Regions from separate parts of the Homo sapiens genome. Here regions 2 and 3 are each linked to region 1. The links are contacts of gene promoters, found by promoter capture Hi-C in blood cells and fetal thymus (Javierre and others, 2016). All regions are on one chromosome and are shown on one strand. Each heading gives the region's core, a stretch centred on a gene start or on the middle of the fragment in contact. The rest is flanking DNA. Distances are from core to core; before and after follow the strand shown.

The links. Contacts are between HindIII fragments. The CHiCAGO score rates a contact against its expected background, and 5 or more counts as called.
Region 2: a fragment that was not itself captured here is called in contact with the fragment with the promoter of IRS4 in region 1 in 1 of 17 cell types (M2 macrophages); the score reaches 5.9 in M2 macrophages.
Region 3: a fragment that was not itself captured here is called in contact with the fragment with the promoter of IRS4 in region 1 in 2 of 17 cell types (endothelial precursors and M2 macrophages); the score reaches 6.6 in endothelial precursors.

The regions. Positions count from the first base shown.
Region 1 is chrX:108,735,313-108,738,992 of GRCh38, forward strand. IRS4 (insulin receptor substrate 4) reads right to left here and starts at 1,251. Exons shown (of 2, transcript NM_001379150.1): 1 at 1-1,251. The coding sequence starts at 1,032. IRS4-AS1 (IRS4 antisense RNA 1) reads left to right here and starts at 1,228. Exons shown (of 3, transcript NR_110652.1): 1 at 1,228-1,279; 2 at 1,953-2,567; 3 at 3,117-3,591. The HindIII fragment of the contact is 14,686 bases long and covers 1-3,680 here.
Region 2 is chrX:109,398,825-109,402,504 of GRCh38, forward strand. The region is part of intron 10 of GUCY2F (guanylate cyclase 2F, retinal); the gene reads right to left. Among named protein-coding and RNA genes, the nearest start is that of GUCY2F, 81 kb to the right of the region's middle. The HindIII fragment of the contact is 7,530 bases long and covers 1-3,680 here.
Region 3 is chrX:109,375,705-109,379,384 of GRCh38, forward strand. GUCY2F (guanylate cyclase 2F, retinal) reads right to left here. Exons shown (of 20, transcript NM_001522.3): 18 at 375-463; 19 at 194-282. The coding sequence ends at 195. Among named protein-coding and RNA genes, the nearest start is that of GUCY2F, 100 kb to the right of the region's middle. The HindIII fragment of the contact is 354 bases long and covers 1,823-2,176 here.

The DNA of each region.
Region 1 (3,680 bases), core at 1-2,500:
GCTGTAGCTGCGGCAGCGGGCTCTGTATTCGTCTGCACACAAGGCTCTCATCTTCTCCAAAAACAGCTCATGCATGTTTTGGGCAACCACACAGTCATCGACCTGCATCCAGAGCTCTCCCGGACCGATGACAGTGGACCTGCCTACTTCCAAGAAGAAATACTGCTCCGAGTGTCCACAGCGACGGATGCTCAGGAGCTGGACGACCACGCTGGCCACTTCGGTGTTCAGCCTCACAAACACGACCTCCTCGTCGGTTAGACACAGCCGGAACACGCCGCTCAGCTCTTTTCTGTGCCCCAGCCCCCTGGGTTTGACTATTACCTGCCACACATCTTTATAGAAGGGTGGCTCCGCCGCCGCTGCCGCCGCCAGCGCGGCCGGCTCTCCGTCCGGCTGCGCGCCGAGCGTGCCGCAGCGGCGGCGCTTGCTCTCGAGGATGAGGCGGCTGAGCAGCAAGTACCAGCTTTCCTGCTCCGACTCGTTCTCGGCCACCATCGCGAAGTATTCGTCTTGGGTGAAAAGAGCAATGAGGTGTCGGTACCTTGCATCTGCTCGCTGGCTCACGGAAAAGCACTGGTATAGGGTGATCACGCGCCGCGGTGGAATGAGCGGGGGGATCGCGGCGCCAGAGGCGGCCGCCGCTGCTGCAGCCGCCGCGGCGCGGACACTGTGCCGGAACTTCCTGGCATTTTCGTAGTATTCCAGCCGAGCTGGGGCGTCAGCAGTCTCGAGTTTGAGCACGAAGTAGCGCCTGTGCCCATGCTTCTGTTTCCGCAGGTAGCCGCGTTTGCAGACTTCCTCCCCGACGGGCAGGTCCTCCTCTTCGGACTCGGAGTCTGACCGGGAGCCAGTGGCCGTGGAGAGCCACATGGCTCCCGGACAAGACGACCCGGTCCCAATGAGTGCGGTCGGGGTTCCCGAGGAAAGAAGCGGGGTGGTCACCACTGCTGCTAGAGCTGCCGCTGCCGCCGCTGCTGCACCTCTTAGTCTTCTTGTCGCTTGGTCGCGAGTGAAGGAGCAACTCGCCATGGTGATGCACGATGGTTTTAAGGTGAGCGAGGAGGAGGGGGAATTCAGGAAAGGGAGGGTTGGGGGAAGAGGCTGTCTACCCTCGTCTGCCCGCCCCAGCCCCCTCCTGCCTTGGCCCGCGCCCCCGCCCACTCCACTCTGAGCGCACGACAGCGGGCAAAACAACACGTGACCACAGCCTCACGCGGCGGCCGCTGCGGATCCTGCTACCGGCGCAATGGAGGGGCGCGAGCGGCCACCAGTAGAGGTGAGCAAGGGAGGAGACGGCGGGCTCGGGAGGCGGAGCCACCTCCGGCTGTGCCAAATCCTCCCGGTCAATCTCCAGGCCTGTGGGCCAAGGGAGGACCGAGAGGAGGAGGCGGGCTCTCTGGCCAAGCTGATTCTAACAGGGAGTCCAGGAAGGCATGAGGGGGCGGGAGAAGGCCTGGAGGGGCGGAGGAGAAAGCGGCCGGCTATCAGGGTCGGGAGAGGGCGCCACAGTCGGGGCCCCATTGGTGGGAGGTGGTGGGAGGGGGCGTAGCGCAAGCAGTGCCTGCCTGCGGCGCCAGGGTGCAGAGCGGGCACAGTCGCGGGACAGTTTGTTTGTTTATTTGGGAAGCGGGAGCCAGGTGAAACTGTTGCAAGGCTCTGATTGGTTGGGATAGGAGCCAATGGGAGGGTCCGGCAAGAAGGCAGCCCCGAAATCATTAGTTTGGCGGGAGGGAGGGGTGAGAGGGGAGAGGGGAGAGGGGGCGTGGCTGGGGTCCCAAAGTGGCTTCGCTGTCGGCTTGTGGCGCTCTCAGGCGGTAAACAACCTTACGCAAATAGCTGTTAATGGTGGTGGTAAACTCGTGCAAATCCCAGAGCCGTGGTGACCCGGGATGGAGTCGGGTGCCCTGGTACTCCCTGTCAATCACATAAATTCTCTGTTCCTGTCACAGTCTGGTTCATTCTTTCCAGCCGCACAAGGCGGCGGATCGAGCTTCTTGGGAGAAAGTGTCGGCACCCCCTGAAAACGGGTTGACGACCAGGGCGCTCAGAACTGCTTCCCACCGCTCTGCAGGCACTCCCGAGCCCGCTGCACCCCTGACAGAAGCCCGCGACTCTGAGGCACACGAATAACAGCGATGCATTCAAAATGAACATGATCTTTATTAATCAGAATGCACTTCTAGCCCACGAAACACAGGTTCCCTAAATACAGTGTTTCTGCCTATTTGATTAACGATGACTATGAAAGCACAAATTTGGGGGCCTGCAATGTATACAGCCATATTGGAAAAAATTGGACTCGATTCTTACTGAAATAACCAGTGTTGGGCTGTGAAGGTATTTTTCTGTGGGAAATGCTTTGGAAGGTGCCTTTAAAAGAATCTCAAAATATTGCTTTCCTTTCCTTGAGCGAGACCGAAAAACTTTAGAAAAAGAAAAGCTCATACCTAGAACAAAGGACCACGCTGAATGCATATTCTAGAGCACATTTCACATCCCTCGCGTCAACAAGAAGAAGAAGAGGAGCTTTGATGCATTTCAGTCTACAAGTTGACATCACAAAAGTAAGAACTACTGCCTCCCTCATTTCTGGAAAAACTGCCGGAGTGTAAGTGCAACCTCCTCAAGTCTCTCTCTCTCTCTCCCTCTCCTTCTCCCTTTCCCTCTCCCTCTCCCTCTCTCCCCCACCACCCCAGTTATTACTTGACTAGGATTTTAGACTCTTAATGGTGGAGATGGGTCGTGAATTATCAAAGGAGTGACCAGGTTTGCAAAGAGGAATGGAGGGAGAGGAGGAGAGAAATACAGCATTTCTCTCTGAAAGAATGGAATGTCAGTTCACCCTTGCTCTAGGGTTGATATGGCAAAGGGTACTATTTATAAAATCCAACAGTAAACTAGGCAATATGTATATCATAAAAATAAACCATATTTCTGCCCTCTTAAGAATTTGCTCTGTTAGAAACAGAACACACGTATTTGAATAAATGGCTCCTTTTTGATGCTATAATTTAAGAGAAAAAGAAATTGGTTTGGGTTGTCCCCCAGATATTACAAATATTCAATAACATTCCCTCTGCTGCCAATGGTTTATAAGTGCAATATATTCACAGGTGCTGGAAGCAGCCGTGGTTTCGGAAGGGAGCTAGAGGCAGAACGAGTGTGGATGCTGAGAGATCCCTGACTGTGACTGCTACATATTTCAGCTGCGTAGTCACATATATACAAGATTCCCTGCACTTACAACCAAAATGATAACAAATGCTCTCATTTGGGATTTTGTTTGATAGTCATTAGGATATTTTATAAGTCTTTCCAAGCACAAGGTTTTTTTCTTTTTTTTTTTAAAGAGAAATGTGACAAATAAGGCAACATATTTGAAAGTGCTTTGAGTAATAACATGACATTGAAAATATCAAAATGAATATTAAATGAAATGGGAAAATACTGGAGATTTTTAAATCCTCATGTCCTTTTTCCTGTACATATAGTTTTTACATAGAGCAGTAGGCTTACAATTTATATAATTTTGCATCCTGTTCTTTTCACTGAACATTATACAATATTTCCCCATATTATTATGCATCAGCATAAATATCATTTAAAATACAACATATTATCCAACACAATCGATGAATATTAATGTAATTAATCATCTGCTTTGGGGCATTTAGGTT
Region 2 (3,680 bases), core at 306-2,805, 660 kb after region 1:
TAGTGCCCCCCATCCCCCAGGGTCTGAATCTATTCTTCTAAGGAATTATGAACAGAGAAAACATACTACTCTCTCCACCCCAGGACCACGCAGGCAGACACAGCAGCGATGTGGGAAAGGGCACAGAAGCTCAAAGTATAGAAATTCTCTGGTGCTTGCTTTCTTGAGCCTGCAAGTAGCAGTTGGCAGGTTTCCAGGGAAAGGCAAGTGTGCTACCACACTGGTTGCCATGGATTTGCTGTTTGCTGAGATCTATATGTGTCTGGTAATTTGATTGTGCTGGGGCTAAGAGATTCACAAGTTGCTTTCTCCAGGTCTCCTCTAAAAGGATTAGAGTTACCCCAGCCTTCCTATTCCTTGCAGTGCAAAAAGGTGCAACAATTCCTTCAACTCAGTTCTGCAAATATTTATTGATGGTCTACTATGTACCATGCCCTGTGCTAGGCACAGAGGTGGTGCTAGAGATGAATCAAACTTGAGGAGTTCACAGACCAGTCGGAAACACAGACATATGCACCCCTAACTGCAATAAAAGAGAGGGAATGATGAGGGCCACTACATAGTAAAGGGAAATGAATCCATTAAAGGTCAAAGTTAAACACCCATTGTGTGCTCTGCTGCATTTCAGGCCCCGTCAGGGACAAAACATTATTTCTGCATTCAGAGTTTATGGCAGTGAGAATGTCAGAAATTTTTCTTGGGTGGGGGGCACTGTAAGCAATGTATAAAGAAATATAATTTAACAATAGAAATACAGTACTCAAAAGCTGGAAGAAGAGTGTTTTAGATTGAATTATATAAAGTTACCATTTCTGTGAATCAAAAACAGTTAGATATTGGCAATTTCATCAGGTTCAAACTAAAAAAAAAACTGAGCTGATCAAATTAATCCAGGAAGACTTCCTGGAAAAGTTAAATTTTAAATGTGCTTGTTAGGAAGGTCAAGGATGCAACTTTCTGGAGCTGAGAAGGTAAGGGCTTTTTTCTCCCTAGAAAGAACAGCATGTGCAAAAGAACAAGAGGCAGAAAGGAGCAAATTGCGGGTGGGGGGATGCCGGGTGGTGGTAAGCAGATTAGCTTGACTGAAGAGAAGGGCTCTGTTAAGGAATAATGAGAAATGAGAAGTGGGGTTGATGAAGTGGGGGAGGGCGGGTGTCTGGAAGAATGGGGGCAGAAGGTGAGAGGCCCTGAGAGCCAAATGAAGGCATTTGGAGTGAATACAAAAGGCAGTAGGGGTGCTGGAGCTGGAGAGGGATTTGATGAAAGCCCTGTTTGGGAAGATTAATCTGGCAACCTGCACAAGCTGGATTGAAGGAGAGAGGCTGGAATCAGGGAGATCAGCTAGGAAGTTATTGCAGTAAGAGCAGGTAGTGAGGTGAGAGGGGCCTAAATGGGGGTGGGGGTAGTAGCAGCAACACAGTCAACCAGATACACTGGAAGGCTACAATGGAGAAGGAAGTGACAGGGCTAAGGATAGGCTCCCTGTGCCTTGAGAATGAGAGGGAGTTGGAGTAAACAACAAGGTGACATCCAGATAGTGAGGTTGGAGACAAATGTCTGCTAAGAGTGAGGGTATCAGGGAGAAAGTAATGGCTAACTTTTCATCTTGTTAAATTTTGGGTATTGGGAAGAGAGTCCAAGAAACAAAGTCCTATGAAATAGGAAGAAGGGTGAAAGGTGAGAGATTATTTTGGTTTGTTAGCAAAACCCAGGAAAGAGAAATCCACCATGGAAATTCTTATTTTCAGCCAATCCTGATCAAAATGGTGAAATAAGAAATTCCAGTTTCACCACCAATCATGTACCCATCTTCTCTCTTTGCTCTTTAAGTGTCCCCAGGCTTTGTCCCCCAACCAGACCCCTCTGAGCTTCCACCCACCATCCACCACTCACTCACACCCATGAAAGTCTCCAAAACACTCACTATAGTGATTTTGCCCCTATGTCTCCCTGCCTAGGAAGATTTATATTTACAAATCAAACGGAAAACAATGAATGATACTTGAATGATTGAATGTCAAAGGAATACATTTATAGTTGCGGGATTTTAGGCACCATGGTTTTGGAGAGGAGTGCAAGGATGAATATTTGAGAGCAGGAAAAATGGCATGTGGCTGCTTCTTTTTGGCATCCTTTCTCCCTGCACATTTAAAAGCACAAGATGGAAAAAGAGGGCAAAACTCTCTGGTAAAAGCTGGGTGATTAAATACAATCATTACAAAATAGTATTTCCAAAGAGCACTTACATGTATGTTGTTAATGGCTATAATGAGGCTTTTCTGCACTATACTTATATAATCGAGAGTGGACAGTAATGAATACATTTACAATCCGCCCCCATTTCCTCATCTCCACTCCAGAACCAAGTAAGAGCCACTAACTACCATTAGAGTTGAACTCTCGGGAAAACTAGAGAAATTACTTTGGTTTGTTTTTTATCTGCTGGAGCCACTATTAACTCTGAGCTTTGCTAGGGTGATAGAATTGACTTTGGAGAGCTACTGTGGTATAGTATAAAAGAACACAGAACTGGAAGTCTAGAGACCCGGGTTCAAAATCTTAGCTTGGTCACCAAGTAGCTACCTTTCTGAACCTTGGCTTCCCTATCTATAAAATGGAAGTTGGGTCAGATGACATCCAATGGCCTTTCAATTATGAGATTCATTTAGCCTCATATCTAAGGTAGGGAGACAAGTTCCTTTATTTCATTTTATTTTGTTCTTTTGTTGATTCAACAAATATTCTGTCAGGAACTGTGAAAGGCACTGAGAAAGGCAAACCTGTTTCCTGCCCCCACAGAGCTTGTAGTTTGGGTGGGGGGAGACAAGGTTAATTGAATGAGTAATGCTAATGAACTATGGTATCACAACAAAGTTCAGGGCCCTGAAGGATTATAAAGAGGGCAACCTAGCCCAGCATAGGGGTCATGGAAAGCCTCTTGAGGCAGTGGTACTTAAGTTGAACCCTGAAGAAATAGAATTTAGCCAGACCCAGATGAGTATATGAAAGAGTGGGAAGAGAAGAGTGTCCCAGGCAGAAGACACAGCTTGTGTGGAGATTTAGTAGTAAGAGACAGCCTGGTGTAATGTAAATAAACAACTAGAAGCAGTTCAGCATGGCCAGAGCATAAAGCAGGGGGGTAGTGGTTAGCATGAGAGGTCAGCAAGTTCCAGGCCATGCAGGGCTCAGCTCGTAAGCCATGTAAAGGAATTTGATCTTTATCCTTAGAGCAATGGGAAGCCATTCGATAGATTTAGGCACAGCTGTAACATGATCAGATTTGCAGTTTAGAAAGCTCCTTCTGGCTGCAGTGTGTGAAGAATGGACTGACCATCCATACTGCCACTGCAATTTGGAGAATGGAGTAATATGATAAGAGGGAGAGACAGAGACAGAGACAGAGGAGACAGACAGACATAGTCCACCCAAAAGCACAAAACCAGAAAAGAGAGCCCTGCAGCTATCCTTTACCCACCCTAAGACTAGATTTTCTTAAGTTTCAAAGTTGCCCATCTGGAAATTAAATGGAACTCTGAGAAGCTAGGCGTTTTGTTTTTTTTTTTTTTGAGACAGAGTCTCGTTCTGTCACCCAGGCTGGAGTGCAGTGGCGCAGTCTCGGCTCACTGCAACCTCCGCCTCCCAGACTCAAGCGATTCTCCTGCCTTAGCCTCCTGAGTAGC
Region 3 (3,680 bases), core at 750-3,249, 640 kb after region 1:
ACAGGTGCAGCTCACCCTGCAGCAGGCCTCCCCACAACAAGGTTTTCACCCATTTTATTAGAGCTTGGAAATTCTCCAGCTCCATCACACTATGCCAACAGAGTATAGGCTGACACTGGCACGCATGCCAAAGGAAGCCCCAGATTTGAAAATTTGGCAAGCTGCTGTGCTCTGTTTTCCTCCTGGCCATTACCTTATGGCTTGTTTCTCACCAACTGCCTTTCTGCTTTTCTTCTTTGGAAGGCTGCAATCTCCACTGGTTGCAGGCCATGGCCCACTTGCCTGCAGGGCAGGGGAGACATCAAATAGGTAGTGAAGAAAGTGTGGCAGAGTATGGCATAGGAAGACTCCAATTAAATGTGAACTCCACTTACCCATCTTTGTCCACTGGTGGGGGCACAGGAAGGGGCTTCATGAAGCCTTTTTTCCCAATCAGCCAGAAGGTTTCCTCTGTGCCTTTGCCCTTATTATAGAAAACATAAAAAATCTTAAGCCTGCTATAATCAATTTTCCAAAAGAATATAAGCATTCAGGTTGGCTCAGAAATTGCCTCACCACTCCCTGGAGTCTTCCTCCCTACGGGGCTGAGCCAGAGCAGCCAGATGAAAAGTGAACACTATATCAAGCTGTCATCCAGATGTTTTGTCTACCGCCACCATACAGCTTCATCATTGGGAATGTGTGGATGTTTGGCTTGACAGCAACCAAATGTCTGGATGCTCAGTTGAAGATTTTGCTTATCATTTGTGCCCTGATCTTTTGGCATTAGGTAAGCCATTGTCTTCTGTATCTAGAGTACATATATTCAGATTCTACCTACCCGCTTACCGTCTCATTCAATGGCTCTCACCAAACCCAAAAAGAGAGTAGAAATGGAAAACAGGCTGTTAAATTTTAAGCCTAAATTATCCTGGCTATTTTGAGAGGTCTACATTTGTGCAGTGTTCTTTTCTTCCAGCCAAGGGACTCTTACAGGTAGGGTAAGACTCCAGGTTGGCCTCCATCTATAGGTCAGTTACTTGGTTGTCAAGAACCACAAGTCTCAGAAGAGAAAAGGAGTGTAAACTCAAGCTAGTCACCCCAGGGCCTGAGTGATGACCTCAGAGGAGTCAAATTTTCTGCCTCTGTTCTGCCTTTCTCTCTTTCCAGTAAACTTTCCTCTCAATGTGCTTCTCTCTCCTCCTTTCAATTCTCTTTCATCTGTTCTCTCATTTCCTCTAATCCATAAGAAAAAAATGTGTTTACCAAGACTGAGAAAAGTAATGGGATGTGTTTCCAACTCATTAATCTGAAATATGGTCTCACTCACAGCAGCTCTCATTTGGAGCAGTTCTGAATTGTTTAACTTAGAAATTCCAATTAGATTTACCCCTTTAAATATCAAGTCCACTGTTCCCTATTTTATATCACATATATTTATCCCTTAACAATAATGACAAAAACCATAATAATTAGCACATTTAATTGGAGAATCTCAAAGCATTTTGCAAATATTTGATTCAAGGCTTGAACAAGCCTTCTATGAGGCAAGTAGAAAGAGCATACCACTATAGTCCAACCTCCATTAACTGGCATCAGACTCTCCCTAAGCCTCAAATAGTTCAAATAATTGGACTATTTGAGCCCACTCTGTTTTCAGAAGAGGTAAGCAACTTGAAAATATATTCCATCACTCATTCTTTCATTTATTCCACTCCTCCTGTACTAGGGCTGGGAATACAGAGATGGTTCCATCCTTAAGGAACTCACAGTACAGTTAAACACAACCATTAGGCCATGTTATAGGTTCTAAACACATGAAGCCCAACTCCTCTGATTCCAAAGCTTTTTCTTTTTACACAGTACCTAGTGTAGTGTCTTATACAGACAGTTGCCCAGTAAATAATCAGACTGTTTCATTAATTGAAACTCTCAGCCCTTGTGCACTTGGAATACTCAAGACACCACTGGATCTTATTTTGGAAAAACATGCTATTAAAGTTCAAACTCAAGGGCCCCCCACCCTCAGCCATATTTGACTGTTTGTCTTGAGATCTAGAGGCTAACAGAACAGCATGCCAATCCCCAAGGGAGCTTTGTAGAGGGATTGTCCAAAGATTTGGGTGGGTCTTAGGACACACTGGGATGCCAAAACTAATGGTTGCAAAAGAGGATAGAAGTGTTATGGACTCAGGCAAGCTTCCAAATCAAAGAGTATGCAGGGGAGCTCCAGGGGCTCTCTGAGGTTTTGGAGTCCATCCAAAAGAATTCTTAGAATCCCAGTTCTCTGTTTACCTACCTGACTTCCACAATTTTGCTAAAGGGAGAAAAAGAGAGAAAACAAGTATGGCAACAACTAAAGCCTGAACCAAACTCTTTGACCCAATATCAATCCCCAAGCAGTCCTAGAGATCCCCCATATAAGAGCATCTTACTTTGGCATGATGCTTATGAGACATTTTGGTATCTCCTATCTTATTTAATCCTCACAAAAATCTGGAATGTAGGTTAATTATTAATCTCATTCTGCGAATGGGGACACTGAGATTCCTGGAGATTAAATGACTTGTCAATAAATAGGCACAGCTGGGACTTGAAACCAGCTCTACTAGACACCAAATTTTAAATGCTCTTCCTTCCATACCACAAAGCTTCTCCAACACACTGGAGTCAAAAGGCAGATCTAGAGGCCAAAAAGCAACTATTGGGAAATTTGAAGCTTGTGAGATTAATGAGCTTCCTGATAACCACAAGTCAGATGAGGCCTCTATGTGGACAAACGAAAGCACAGAGAGAGGGTGAAATTACTTGTCTGATGTCAGACATTAAGTCAGTGATGGGGCAAGAATTTGAGGCAAAACTTTCTGACCTTCATGGATCTGTCAGTACAATCTCACTATTTCTTAATTGCCTGTCTGTGTGCATGTGTGTGCTCATAGACATGCTCATACACACACTGCTTGTGTGTGTATGCTGGGGTTGGGATATGAGTGGGAAAGACTGGGGAAAATAAAACAAATACTAATACTTAGGAACCTGAGAACCAAATACTGTTTAACCCCAGAATTCAAAGACAAGTTCAGAAAGTGCCCACTTCTAGAATGTAAATTAGTACAGCCATTATGGAAAACAGCATGAAGATTCCTCCAAAAAGTTAAAGTAGAATTACCATATGATCTAGCAATTCCACTTCTGGGTATTTACTCAAAATATTGGAATCAGTCTGTCAAAAAGATATCTGCACTCCCATGTTCATTGCAGCACTAGGCACATTAGCCAAGTTATGGAATTAACCTGTTTATCAACAGATGAATGGATAAAAAAAATTTAGTGTATACATACAATGGAATACTATTCATCCTTTAAAAAGAAAGAAATTCTATCACTTGTGACAACATGAATGGAATTGAAGAATATTTGCTAAGTGAAATAAGCCAGGCACAGAAAGGCAAATACTGCATGTTTTCACTTATATTTGGAATCTAAAACAATTGAATTAATAGAAGCAGAGAGTAGAATGGTGGTTACAGAAGCCAAAGGTGGGTGAAATGAACAGATGATGGTGTAAGAACACAAAATCTGTTCAGTGAGGAAGAATATGTGTGATTTTTTCAGCTCTATTGCATATCATGGTGAATATAGTTAATAATGCTGTACATTTCAAAATCACTAAACGAATGCATTTCAAATGTTCTCACCAC